3 separate regions of the Homo sapiens genome follow, and all the other regions are linked to region 1. The links are contacts of gene promoters, found by promoter capture Hi-C in human tissues and cell types (Jung and others, 2019). All regions are on one chromosome and are shown on one strand. The core of a region is centred on a gene start or on the middle of the fragment in contact, and the rest is flanking DNA. Distances in the headings are between cores, read along the strand shown.

Region 1 (3,670 bases), core at 871-3,370:
GGCTGGTCTCGAACTCCTGACCTCGTGATCTGCCTGCCTCGGCCTCCTAAAGTGCTGGGATTACAGGCTTTAGCCACCGTGCCAGGCCAAATTTTTTTAAAAAAATTAGCCAGGTGTGGTGGGTGCCGGTAGTCCCAGCTATTCGCGAGGCTGAGGCAGAGAGAATCGCTTGAGCTCAGGAGTCTGCAGTGAGCTATGATCACACCAGTGCACTCCAGCCTGGGTGACAGGCTAAAAGAATATATATACATATCTCTCTATAAAATATATGAAAATACAAAACAGAAATCAAAATTTAAGTTTTACGTTATTTCCACAGAAGATATTGTTAGTGATACCCCCTTTTTTTTTGCTCCTCTTTGCTTATCTTATGTTCTGAAATTAACATTTATCATTTTTGAATGATGGAAAATATATTTTACAGGAGCACCGTTGGAGTCTTTCACTTAACACTGCCTCCCAACCAGGCCAGTGGTCATGTAAATTAAGTCAATTGTCATAAAAGGGCTTGGAAGTTTCAAGGTAGTTAGCCAAAATAATTAAAATCCTGGTGAAATTTCACAGAGCTGGCCATTGAGCTTTGACTCCACTGACATGAGGCTGCTGTAAACAGACACCAGGCTCCATGTTTTCAAAAGGCCTAAAAACAGCACAAAATAAAATATAACAACGATTGTTCATGTAAAGGGCCACGTGCCATCTCTGTCCTGAGCAAATGTAACCTGAAACCCTCTCTGTCTGGCACTCCGGGTTGGCGGCACCTCTCTGGACGGTGTATTTGCTCTCCATTACTCAATTTACTTTCCTGAACTTGAAATGGAGTGGAATTTCAATGTAGAGTTACCCATTAGCTCCAGGGCTAAATTTAAACCTTTAATTAAATTAATCCGTTGATCTGAAACACATTGCTTCTCCCTCAAAAGTGCAGCAGGTTTCTTAGGTGTCACAGAGCTTAATTCAGTGTGGCAATTGTTCCTTACTGCATTTGTTAAGTTGCCCATACCGCCTGGGGAAACCCGCACACGTTTTCAGATCCCTCCAGGTGAACTCCTCCACCCTGTCCCCGCCCCCGCCCCCACCCCCAACCAAAACAAGCATTCGTTGTGGGTGGGGACTGCGACTCCTCCCAGATTCAGAGCTACTGCTCTGGGAGGGCCGTCAGGAACCCGTATTTATAGAAGACATGGTAGGTGCCAAACGTGCTTATGAGATAAACGACAGGGTAACTGTCCACATTGGTCCCAGTTTATGAGGGAGAAGAGATCATAATCTACAAAAATTTGCAAGGTGACCAGGGGAAAAGAGTGTAAGGTCATTTTAGCCCACCTGGGTCTTCACAGAAAATGGAGCACATTTCAGAGCCAAAGTAAAAAATTTGCGTTGTCCTTTGCTAAGAGAGAGATGAAAAGTGACAATACCATGGATTGGGGATGCGTGAGTTCGTTGGCCACATGTAAGATGTTCGTGCTTCTGGGCTCTTATGCATCCCAAGGCGTGCATTTATCCCGGGGGCTGCATCCTTGGCCTGGGAATGAATAGACCCAACTGCAATGGTTGTTAGCGATAGCTTTACGGTGGGACAGTCTCCATAGGGGCTGTGGACTTACCCGTGTTATTATGAAAAGGATCTATTTACTTCTCGGGGACCAACGGCCTTGCGGGGTCCAAGTAACTCGCTCGCAGTCCAAAACTCTGCAACGCTCCACATAACCGTCCTGTAGACCCACAACTCTCCCAGGAGCACAGCCCCAGGACCTAACCCACCGGGTTCTGCTCGCTCACCCAATTCCCAGTGCGAGCGCGCGGGGGAAACGTGCTCGCCTCCCGCACCTGGCTTCCGCGGCCCCGGGAGTCGCCAACTCTCCCAGCAGGCAGCTCCGACAACCCGGACAGCCGGGCCGATCCCCCGCCCCACCACCCGCTCGGCTCTCGCGTCCTCCTCTTCCTCCTCCCGTGGCCCCTTGCCTCCCGCCGTCTGCCTCTGCGGCCGCCGCCTGCGGCTTTGTTTTCCTCCCAGGTCGCATTCCCCACACGTGATTCCGTGTTATTGCAAAGAGGGCTTTGGAGCGCGAGCGCGGGGCGCGCGCACCTATAAATACGGACACCCGGCCCCGGAGCCCGCGAGCCAGCGGCCAGGCGACCGGCGGGCGGCCAGCCAGCGAGCCGAACTAGCCGAGCTAGGTAGCGAGGCGTGCGCGTGGGCCGGGGCGGCGGCGCCCCCATCCCCAGCACCGAGGGGCGAGCATGGCCCGCCCGCGGGGGGGCTGGACCGCCGCGCACGCCGCCCGATCCCCGCGCCCTACCCAGCCCGGGTCGCCGCCGCTCGCGCCCGCCGCTTAGCGCTCGGGCGCCGCTCGCTTCTCCGGGCATCGCGGAAATCCCGCCGCAGACGGACACAATGGCGGCGGCGGCGGCGGCCGCCACCACGGCCGCCTGCAGCAGCGGCAGCGCCGGCACCGACGCCGCGGGCGCCAGCGGATTGCAGCAGCCGCCGCCGCAGCCCCAGCCTCAGCCCGCGGCCGCCGCGCCGGCCCAGCCGCCGCCCGAACCCCCCCGGAAGCCGCGCATGGACCCGCGGCGCCGCCAGGCTGCCCTCTCCTTCCTCACCAACATCTCGCTGGACGGCCGGCTGCCGCCGCAGGACGCGGAGTGGGGCGGTGGCGAGGAGGGCGGCGCGGCCAAGCCGGGCGCCGGCGGCGCCTGCGGCGCGAGGACTCGGTTCAGCTTGCTCGCCGCTGCCGAGCGGGGCGGCTGCATCGCGCTCGCCGCGCCGGGCACGCCGGCTGCGGGGTTAGCCGCTGGGTCCGGCCCCTGCCTCCCACAGCCCTCGTCGCTGCCGCCCTTGATTCCTGGCGGCCATGCGACCGTGTCCGGCCCCGGGGTGGCGCGGGGGTTCGCGAGTCCCCTGGGCGCCGGCCGGGCGTCGGGGGAGCAGTGGCAGCCGCCCCGGCCGGCGCCTCTCGCCGCCTGTGCCCAACTGCAGCTGCTCGACGGGTCCGGGGCCGCCGGGCAGGAGGAGTTGGAGGAGGACGATGCCTTTATCAGCGTGCAGGTGCCGGCGGCCGCCTTTTTGGGCTCCGGGACCCCCGGGAGTGGGAGCGGCAGTCGGGGACGCCTCAACTCGTTCACTCAGGGAATCCTGCCCATCGCCTTCTCCAGGCCGACTTCGCAGAACTACTGCTCCCTGGAGCAGCCAGGCCAGGGCGGCAGCACCAGCGCCTTCGAGCAGCTGCAGAGGTCCCGGTGAGTATCCGGGATGCGACGCGCACCCAACCCTGCGTCCCGCCCGGCGCTCCCAGCCTCCCCGCGGTCTCTGGGCTACGGGACACGGGTTGCTCCCATTTTCCCGCGCCCTGCCGGATCCTGTGCTCCGGGCCCGAATCCCAAACCACGAGGGCACCCAAAAGAGGGGGCGTCCCCAGGGAGTGCGGGGTTACACGTGTTTGCACGAGCCCAGCATTCGCAGAGGAGCACCGCGCTTGTGCAGTGGGTCGGGAATTGGGAGTTGCAGGAGCCCAGTAGAAAGCGGCGTCCGAGCCTCCCCACACGAGATCACAAACTTCCTGAAACCCGGTCCAGACCCGGAGGCGCACTCTTCCCCGCGTGGGGCGAGACTCGGCCGGGCGCAGAGTGGAGCAGTGCAGGCCGGCAGCTGAGCGGCGCGTGTGAG
Region 2 (3,670 bases), core at 647-3,146, 43 kb after region 1:
ATGCTGGACACCAAGGGGGAGACTCCAGGGAGCGTTTTACTGGCGTCCTCCCTAGGAGGGCAGCCCTCTGAAGGGTCCGGTAAACACCAGCTTGGATGTGAGGACCCCCGCCTGAGCCCCTGCTGGTTCTAATGAAGTTAGCTCCGTTCTCTCCTGACTGTGGAGGAAGGGACAGGAGTGTGTCCCTCCAGCAAGGTTCGGTTCTCCCTCGCCTTCTTCAAATCCCACAGAGCTAGGCACAGAGGGTCCTTGTCTTGTGTTCGAAGGAAAAATAAATGCGTATCTGGCTTAGAAAGTCTTCAGCAGGTAAAGGCATTCTTCCAAAGCACCAGTGAGCCCTCACAGTGACTGGGGAGGAAGCGAGACGGCTCCAGCACAGGCCATTGTCAGGCTCGGGGCCCCGTCAGACCAAGTCTCAGGAACGAGTTCTGCTCAGCCTCTGTCTAAGGAGGTAACTCTGGCCCCCTGCACCACACACTTGCTCACCCATGTAAGCCCTGAAGTGTTCGTAGCCCTGTACCTCCTGTGTTCGGGTGTGAGACTGAAAGGTGCTATGTGTGAGCACATGTGTACACACACACACACACACACACACACACACACACACGTTCATTGTGCTGTGATACCAGCCCCAGCCCCGCCGGTCTATGTGTGGTCAGCTTGTCCACTTGGCTGTTGGGGTCTCTGTCCGGGTCCTCCTGGAGCCAAGCCTGGCCCTCTGATTGCGAGCCTGTCTGTCTCCTGGTTCCCGCTGGGCTCTTTTCCTGGGGCCGGACTTTGCTGGGAGGAATTCTTCCTATGCCTCACCGAGTCCCAGTTCTGTCCTGTCCTGTTGGGCTCTGGGAAGGTGCATGTAGGAAGCCCCTCAGGCCCCCTGCCATGGCCTGCCTGCTCCCTCTGTTAGAGGTACTCTCTTCTCCTCTCCCAATTAAAACCTTGGCTCTCCCTGGCTCCCCCATGTACTCCACACCTGGTTTGGCCTCCAGGTGTGGACACACTCCACAGTATCCTTAAACCATGGGACCAGGTGCTGCATTCCCAGCCACCCTCCTTGCCCGGCTCAGGGAAGCCCTTTGCAGAGAACGCCTGGATTTGATTCCTTGGAGCCTGACGCCCATTCAGAACATAGGTAAGTTGGCCGCAAACTCCTTGGACTTAGATGCATAGGGCGCATTTCTGTCTAGGGTGAAGCTGGCCCTTTTATTTCTAGTGGTTTTCCCTTTCCAATATTCCCTTCCCACCCATATCCTGTCCTGGCTGGGCCCCCACTTTTCTTCCCCACCCCCTCCATGAGTATCCAATGTGTTCTGTAGCAAGATCAAAGCGGTTTATCTCATCAGCCACACAAAACCTTTTCGGATCCTGATTTTTTTTTTTCAACCAGTACCCAGTACCTGCTTCTCCTGGTTCTACCCTTCTGCGTATTCCATTGTGTGCCCCTACAGCAGCAGGGCAGGGCCCCTCCCTCTGGGACGAGGCCAAGTATGAATTAGAATGCAGCACTGCCACTGAGCCAGCGACCCTGGGCTGGCCGCCTGATGTCCTGATACCCTAAGGCTGTCCAGGGACCCTGGGCTGGCCGCCTGATGTCCTGATACCCTAAGGCTGTCCAGGGACCCTGGGCATGTACCTTCATGGCGGCCAGGTGTGCTGTGTCTGCTGCTGTGTTCTGACCTTCCCTCTAGACCCTTTGTCAAAAGAGTTTGAACTTGTTCCCAGGGGGTATCACTGGATCTTCAAGTAGGGACTGACATGAGGGAAAGAGTGTTTTTCAAGATTAGCAGGACAGCAGTGGGCAGGGTAGACTGGGAGATCTTTGGGGATGAATTTCTGGCCAGCTATTAAATCCTAGCAGCAGTTCCTGTCAGCTCTAAATAGCCCCATATACCAAGATAACCTCACACCTTGATTTTTCAGGATTTGGCAAGTCTGATGAGAGCCCTTGAAACAAAAGTAAACTCAGGCAAGCCAAGAGCCTTTTGTATTCTCTGTAAACATTTAGAGAGTCGCTTTCTTGACCCGCCTATGAAAATGTAGAAACAGACCTTATTTGAACAAGCTGATTGGCAACTCTAGTGTATTGATTTTAATTTGGTTTTTGCCTGATTCATCAGCTGGAGACTTTAAAACATAGCCAGATTCAAAACCAGTTTCTTGGCCGGGCGTGGTGGCTCACACCAGTAATCCCAACACTTTGGGAGGCCGAGGCGGGCCAATTGCCTGAAGCCAGGAGTTCGAGACCAGCCTGGCCAACACGGTGAAACCCTGTCTCTACTAAAAATACAAAAATTAGTCGGGTATTGTGGCGGGTCCCTGTAATCCCAGCTACTCAGGGGGCTGAGGCAGGAGAATCGCTTGAACCCAGGAAGCAGAGGTTGCAGTGAGCCGAGATCGCGCCACTGCACTCCACCCTGGGAGACAGAGACTCCGTCTAAAAAAATAAAGAAAAAACGGTTTCTTCCCATTGTGTCTAATTTAAAAAAATCTAACCATCCCTCCTTTTCTTAAAGATAATCCTGTCTTCCTTCCTTTACAAGAAAAATCCCAGTGACTCCCCCACCCCAGGGATTTTGAATTCCTTTGGTCTGTATTCTGGATATGGATCTGGCTTTCAGCGTGTTAGTTGAGGCTCGGGGAGGAGGTTTTCCTTCCAAGCCAGCTGTGTGCCCAGTGCTCAGAGGTATGGATGGCATCAGGCTGACTGGTCAAGACCAAATGCTCCTCCAGTCACCCCAGCCTGGTGACCTGGCCCGGCCAGTATGCCACTGTAGTGTCAGACTCTGTGGCTCTCCTCTTGGAGTTCCTCCAGGGTCTAACAAGCAGCTGCTGCCAGGTGAGCAGTAAGGGCCATGCTTACTTTCATCGGCACTTTTGCTGCTGGACAAAGCTTTAGATCCGTGGACAACAAAACAAAGCATGTGTCTAATGGATGTGTCCTCAGGCTGAAGGGAAGGCCGTTTTGCTTTAAGGGTCTGTGTATCTTCTGTTAAGAGGTAGCAGCTGACTTTTTTTTCTTCATCTGTGAACACGTGTACTAGGGTGAAACAGTTTTGTTTTGTTTTTGTTTTTATTTTTGTTTTTTGTTTTTTGAGACGGAGTCTCGCTCTGTTGCCCAGGCTGGAGTGCAGTGGCGCAATCTTGGCTCACTGCAAGCTCCGCCTCCCGGGTTCAGGCCATTCTCCTGCCTCAGCCTTCTGAGTAGCTGGGACTACAGGCGCCCGCCACCACGCCCGGCTAATTTTTTTTTTAATTTTTAGTAGAGACTGGGTTTCGCCGTGTTAGCCAGGATGGTCTCGATCTCCTGACCTCGTGATCCACCCGCCTCAGCCTCCCAAAGTGCTAGGATTACAGGCATGAGCCACCGCGCCTGGCCAACAGTTTGTTTTTTTTAAGTGAGCGCAGTCTGATTGGACTTCTGCTGGAGGAGCATCTGGAATCTTGGCATTGAAGTTTGCCAACTCACGAACAATGTTATCATCACTTATCTGATGAATGTGAGGAGCAGGCTGATGGTGCTGTGGCAGTCAACAGCTTAAGATGCTGCTAGGGAAATGAAGGAAATAACAATAGGGTGATGGAGGGGCATTTTCCTTTAAGAGAGCCTAGTATTTGAAAACCAGCATTTCACAAATGACATACACATGATAGTACAATTCTTGGGCTTATGTGT
Region 3 (3,670 bases), core at 686-3,185, 45 kb before region 1:
AAGTGTAGTTCCCTGAGAGAGCTGATGGGAGCCCCGGAAGGCACGGAATGGGTGTGGTGGCAAACAGAGCACCAAGGGAGCAGGCTCCATGACTTTCAGCCCTGGAGGTGCGGCTCTGTGGCCCCGGGTGTTCTCCCAGGCCTCCTCTTAATCCATCTCATCCCAGTAAACCTCGCTGATGGGGACTGTGAAAGATGCCCCGCTCTTCTCCATGAGGGCTGGCCAGCTTTGGGGGAAATACGAATCTAAGTTTTCTGTTGTTTTTCTAATTAAGTTTTAAAAATAATTTTCAAGGAAGAAATTAACACCTCTACATTAGAACCAGGTGCCATATTTAAATTTCAAGTGGTTTTTAGTTTATCTCAAATGAATAAGTCTTTCTTTTCAACATTTAATATTCAAATACCTGTTCATAAAAATGCGTCTTCACCCTATTTTTGCCATATTTATTCCCTAGGGGATTTTCTTGGTTTGAGTCTTATGTTTAGCAGACACTTCAAGTCGACAAATTGAAATTGGCCGGCCATGGTGGCTCACGCCTATAATCCCAATACTTTGGAAGGCTGAGGCGGGCATATCACCTGAGGTCAGAAGTTTGATACCAGCCTGGCCAACATGGTGAAAACCGGTCTCTACTAAAAATACAAAATTAGCTATGCGTGGTGCATGCTGGTAATCCCAGCTACTTGGGAGGCTGAGACAGGAGAATTGATTGAACCTGGGAGGCAGAGGTTGCAGTGAGCCGAGATCACGGCACTGCACTCCAGCATGGAACACGAGAGCAAAACTCCATCTCAAAAAAAAAAAAAAGAGTTGGTGGGGGGCCGGGCACAGTAGCTCACGCCTGTAATCCCAGCACTCTGGGAGGCCAAGCCAGGTGGATCACGAGATCAAGAGATCAAGACCATCCTGGCCAACATGGTGAAACCCCATCTCTACTAAAAATACAAAAATTAACTGGGCGTGGTGGCGGGCGCCTGTAGTCCCAGCTACTTGGGAGGCTGAGGGAGCACAATCACTTGAACCTGGGAGACGGAGCGTGCAGTGAGCCGAGATTGCGCCGCTGCACTCCAGCCTGGCGACAGAGCGAGACTCTGTCTGAAAGAAAGAAAGAAAGAAAGGAAGAAAGAAGGAAGGAAAGAAGGAAGGAAGGAAGGAAGGAAGGAAGGAAGGAAGGAAAGAAAGAAAGAAAGAAAGAGAAAGAAAGAAAGAAAGAGAAAGAAAGAAAGGAAGAAAGAAGGAAGGAAAGAAGGAAGGAAGGAAGGAAGGAAGGAAGGAAGGAAGGAAAGAAAGAAAGAAAGAAAGAAAGAAAGAAAGAAAGAAAGAGAAAGAAAGAAAGAAAGAGAAAGAAAGAAAGGAAGAAAGAAGGAAGGAAAGAAGGAAGGAAGGAAGGAAAGAAAGAAAGAAAGAAAGAAAGAAAGAAAGAAAGAAAGAGAAAGAAAGAAAGGAAAGAAAGAAAGAGAAAGAAAGAAAGAAAGAAAGAAAGAAAGAAAGAAAGAAAGAAAGAAAGAAAGAAGAATCTCCTTTAAATTAGAAGGAAACTCTTAGTGTACTGCAGGATTCCTTTGCTAGGCTGAGCCCCAGTTGTCTGAAAGTCATTTGCCCAAAACATTTAACACTAACTCCTGAAAAATTCTGTACATGCTAAGAAGATCTGAACCACTTAGTGCAATAGGAATCTGCTAAAAAGCACCTAGGATAAGGGAAAACAACATAGAAAATCTGTATTTCTTCTTCTTCTTTTTTTTCCAAGACGGAGTCTTGCTCTGTCACCCAAGCTGGAGTGCAGTGGCATGATCTCAGCTCACTGCAACCTCCCCCTCCCGGGTTCAAGAAATTCTCCTGTCTCAGCTTCCCAAGTAGCTGGGATTATAGGCACGCACCACAACGACCGGCTAATTTTTGTATTTTTAGTAGAGACGGGTTTTCACCATGTTGGCCGGACTGGTCTTGAACTCCTGACCTCGTGATCCACCCACCTCAGCCTCCCAGTGTGTTGGGATTCCAGGCGTGAGCCACCGCGCCCGGCCGAAAAATTGTATTTCTATTCACAATGAGACAGGACTATTAAAACCACATGTTTATTTTTGGAAACTCTAATCTTCAGTAACTCTCATTTACAGTTCAACCACAATATGAAAACCCTTTATTATTTTATATCCAACTTTTATTATAAAAATAATAAATGCCCATATAAATATTTGGAAAATAAAAAGTATAATAATTCATGTTTTTAAAGCCATAACTTCAACATCTGATGATAACCTCTGTTAATACTGCAATGCCTATCTTGTGTGTGTGTATAAAACAACCTTGTAATCATATCACACATAGTTTTATATTCTGATTTTTATCATTTATCACTTTATCTTATGGATTTCTCCACACTAAAATGTTGCCCATTAAAAACTTATTATTATTATTACTATTATTATTATTTTGAGACAGAGTCTCTGTTGCCCAGGCTGGAGAGCCCTGGTGCCATCTCAGCTCACTGCAACCTCCGCCTCCCAGGTTAAAGAGTCTCCTGCCTCAGCCTCTTGAGTAGCTGGGATTACAAGCACGCACCACCACACCCAGCTAACTTTTGTATTTTTAGTAGAGACGGAGTTTCACCATGTTGGCCAGGCTGGACTCAAACTCCTGACCTCAAGCAATCCACCTGCCTCAGCCTGTCAAAGTGCTGGGATTACAGGCGTGAGCCACTGCACCCAACCTAAAAAATTCATTTTAATTGGCTCATGATACTTCATTGTTTGACAGTACTATAATTTATTAAATGATTTCCCTATTGTCAGACATTTAGGAACCACACTACAATTTATGCCTTGACAATCCAACATGAAAAGACTGTTTTTTTTTTTTTTGTCTTGAAAAAGGAAGTAACATCATCCCGAAAGAAGCTGGTATTTCCTCTTCTCAACCTCTGGTTCTCTCTCTTCACTGTCTCTGGTTTCATATTAACTTCATTTGAAGGCTTCTTCTTTTGCTATATTAAAGAATAGGAGTGAGAAAAGCAGCTACCACCTAGAGAAACTCTGACCAAAGGAGTGGCAATGGACGATTAATAAAATGATTATTTTAAAGATAAGCTTTGTTCTTGTTCTTTATAAATTGCAAGTCATGGCTGAATAATCATTTTTAAGAATATGTGTATATTTTTAGCCAGTTTTGGTGGCACGTGCCTGTAGTCCCAGCTACTCAGGAGGCCAAGGCAGGGGTATTGCTTGAGCCCAGGAGGTCAAGGCTGCAGTGAGCCATAATGGCGCCACTGCACTCCAGCCTGGGTGGCAGAGCAAGATCCTGTCTCAAAAAAAAAAAAAAATATATATATATGTGTGTGTGTGTGTGTGTGTGTGTGTGTGTGTGTGTACACATATATATTCCTTTTTAAAATATATATATATATATATATATTCTTATTTTTAAGATGCTTTAGATGAGTCAGTGTTCTCCAGATAGATGGATCCAATAGGATATATAGAGACATGAGAGGGGATTTATGAGGGGAATTGGCTCATGTGATTATGGAAGCTGAGAAGTCCCATGACAGGCCATCTGGAAGCTGGAGACCCGGGGATGATGGTAGTGTGGCTTTGCCCAAGTTCGAAGCCTCAGAACTGGGGAAGCCAATGGTATAACTCTCAGTCCGTGGCCAAAGCCCTGCGAA

Evidence for each region. The method cuts DNA at HindIII sites, captures the fragments that hold promoters and counts their contacts. A contact is called where the count stands out against the background at its distance.
Region 2: a fragment that was not itself captured here is called in contact with the fragment with the promoter of CABLES1 in region 1 in 2 of the 25 tissues and cell types used here (aorta and lymphoblastoid cells).
Region 3: a fragment that was not itself captured here is called in contact with the fragment with the promoter of CABLES1 in region 1 in 5 of the 25 tissues and cell types used here (lymphoblastoid cells, mesenchymal stem cells, neural progenitor cells and 2 more).

What each region holds. Positions count from the first base shown.
Region 1 is chr18:23,133,365-23,137,034 of GRCh38, forward strand. It overlaps CABLES1 (Cdk5 and Abl enzyme substrate 1), which reads left to right and starts at 2,121. Exons shown (of 10, transcript NM_001100619.3): 1 at 2,121-3,243. The coding sequence starts at 2,399. RefSeq lists silencers at 920-1,009, 1,020-1,129, 1,890-1,969, 2,090-2,299, 2,430-2,639 and 3 more and an enhancer at 1,320-1,469. The HindIII fragment of the contact is 17,284 bases long and covers 1-3,670 here.
Region 2 is chr18:23,176,848-23,180,517 of GRCh38, forward strand. All of the region lies in intron 1 of CABLES1 (Cdk5 and Abl enzyme substrate 1), which reads left to right. Among named protein-coding and RNA genes, the nearest start is that of CABLES1, 43 kb to the left of the region's middle. The HindIII fragment of the contact is 3,734 bases long and covers 30-3,670 here.
Region 3 is chr18:23,088,628-23,092,297 of GRCh38, forward strand. No RefSeq gene overlaps it. Among named protein-coding and RNA genes, the nearest start is that of CABLES1, 45 kb to the right of the region's middle. The HindIII fragment of the contact is 7,157 bases long and covers 1-3,670 here.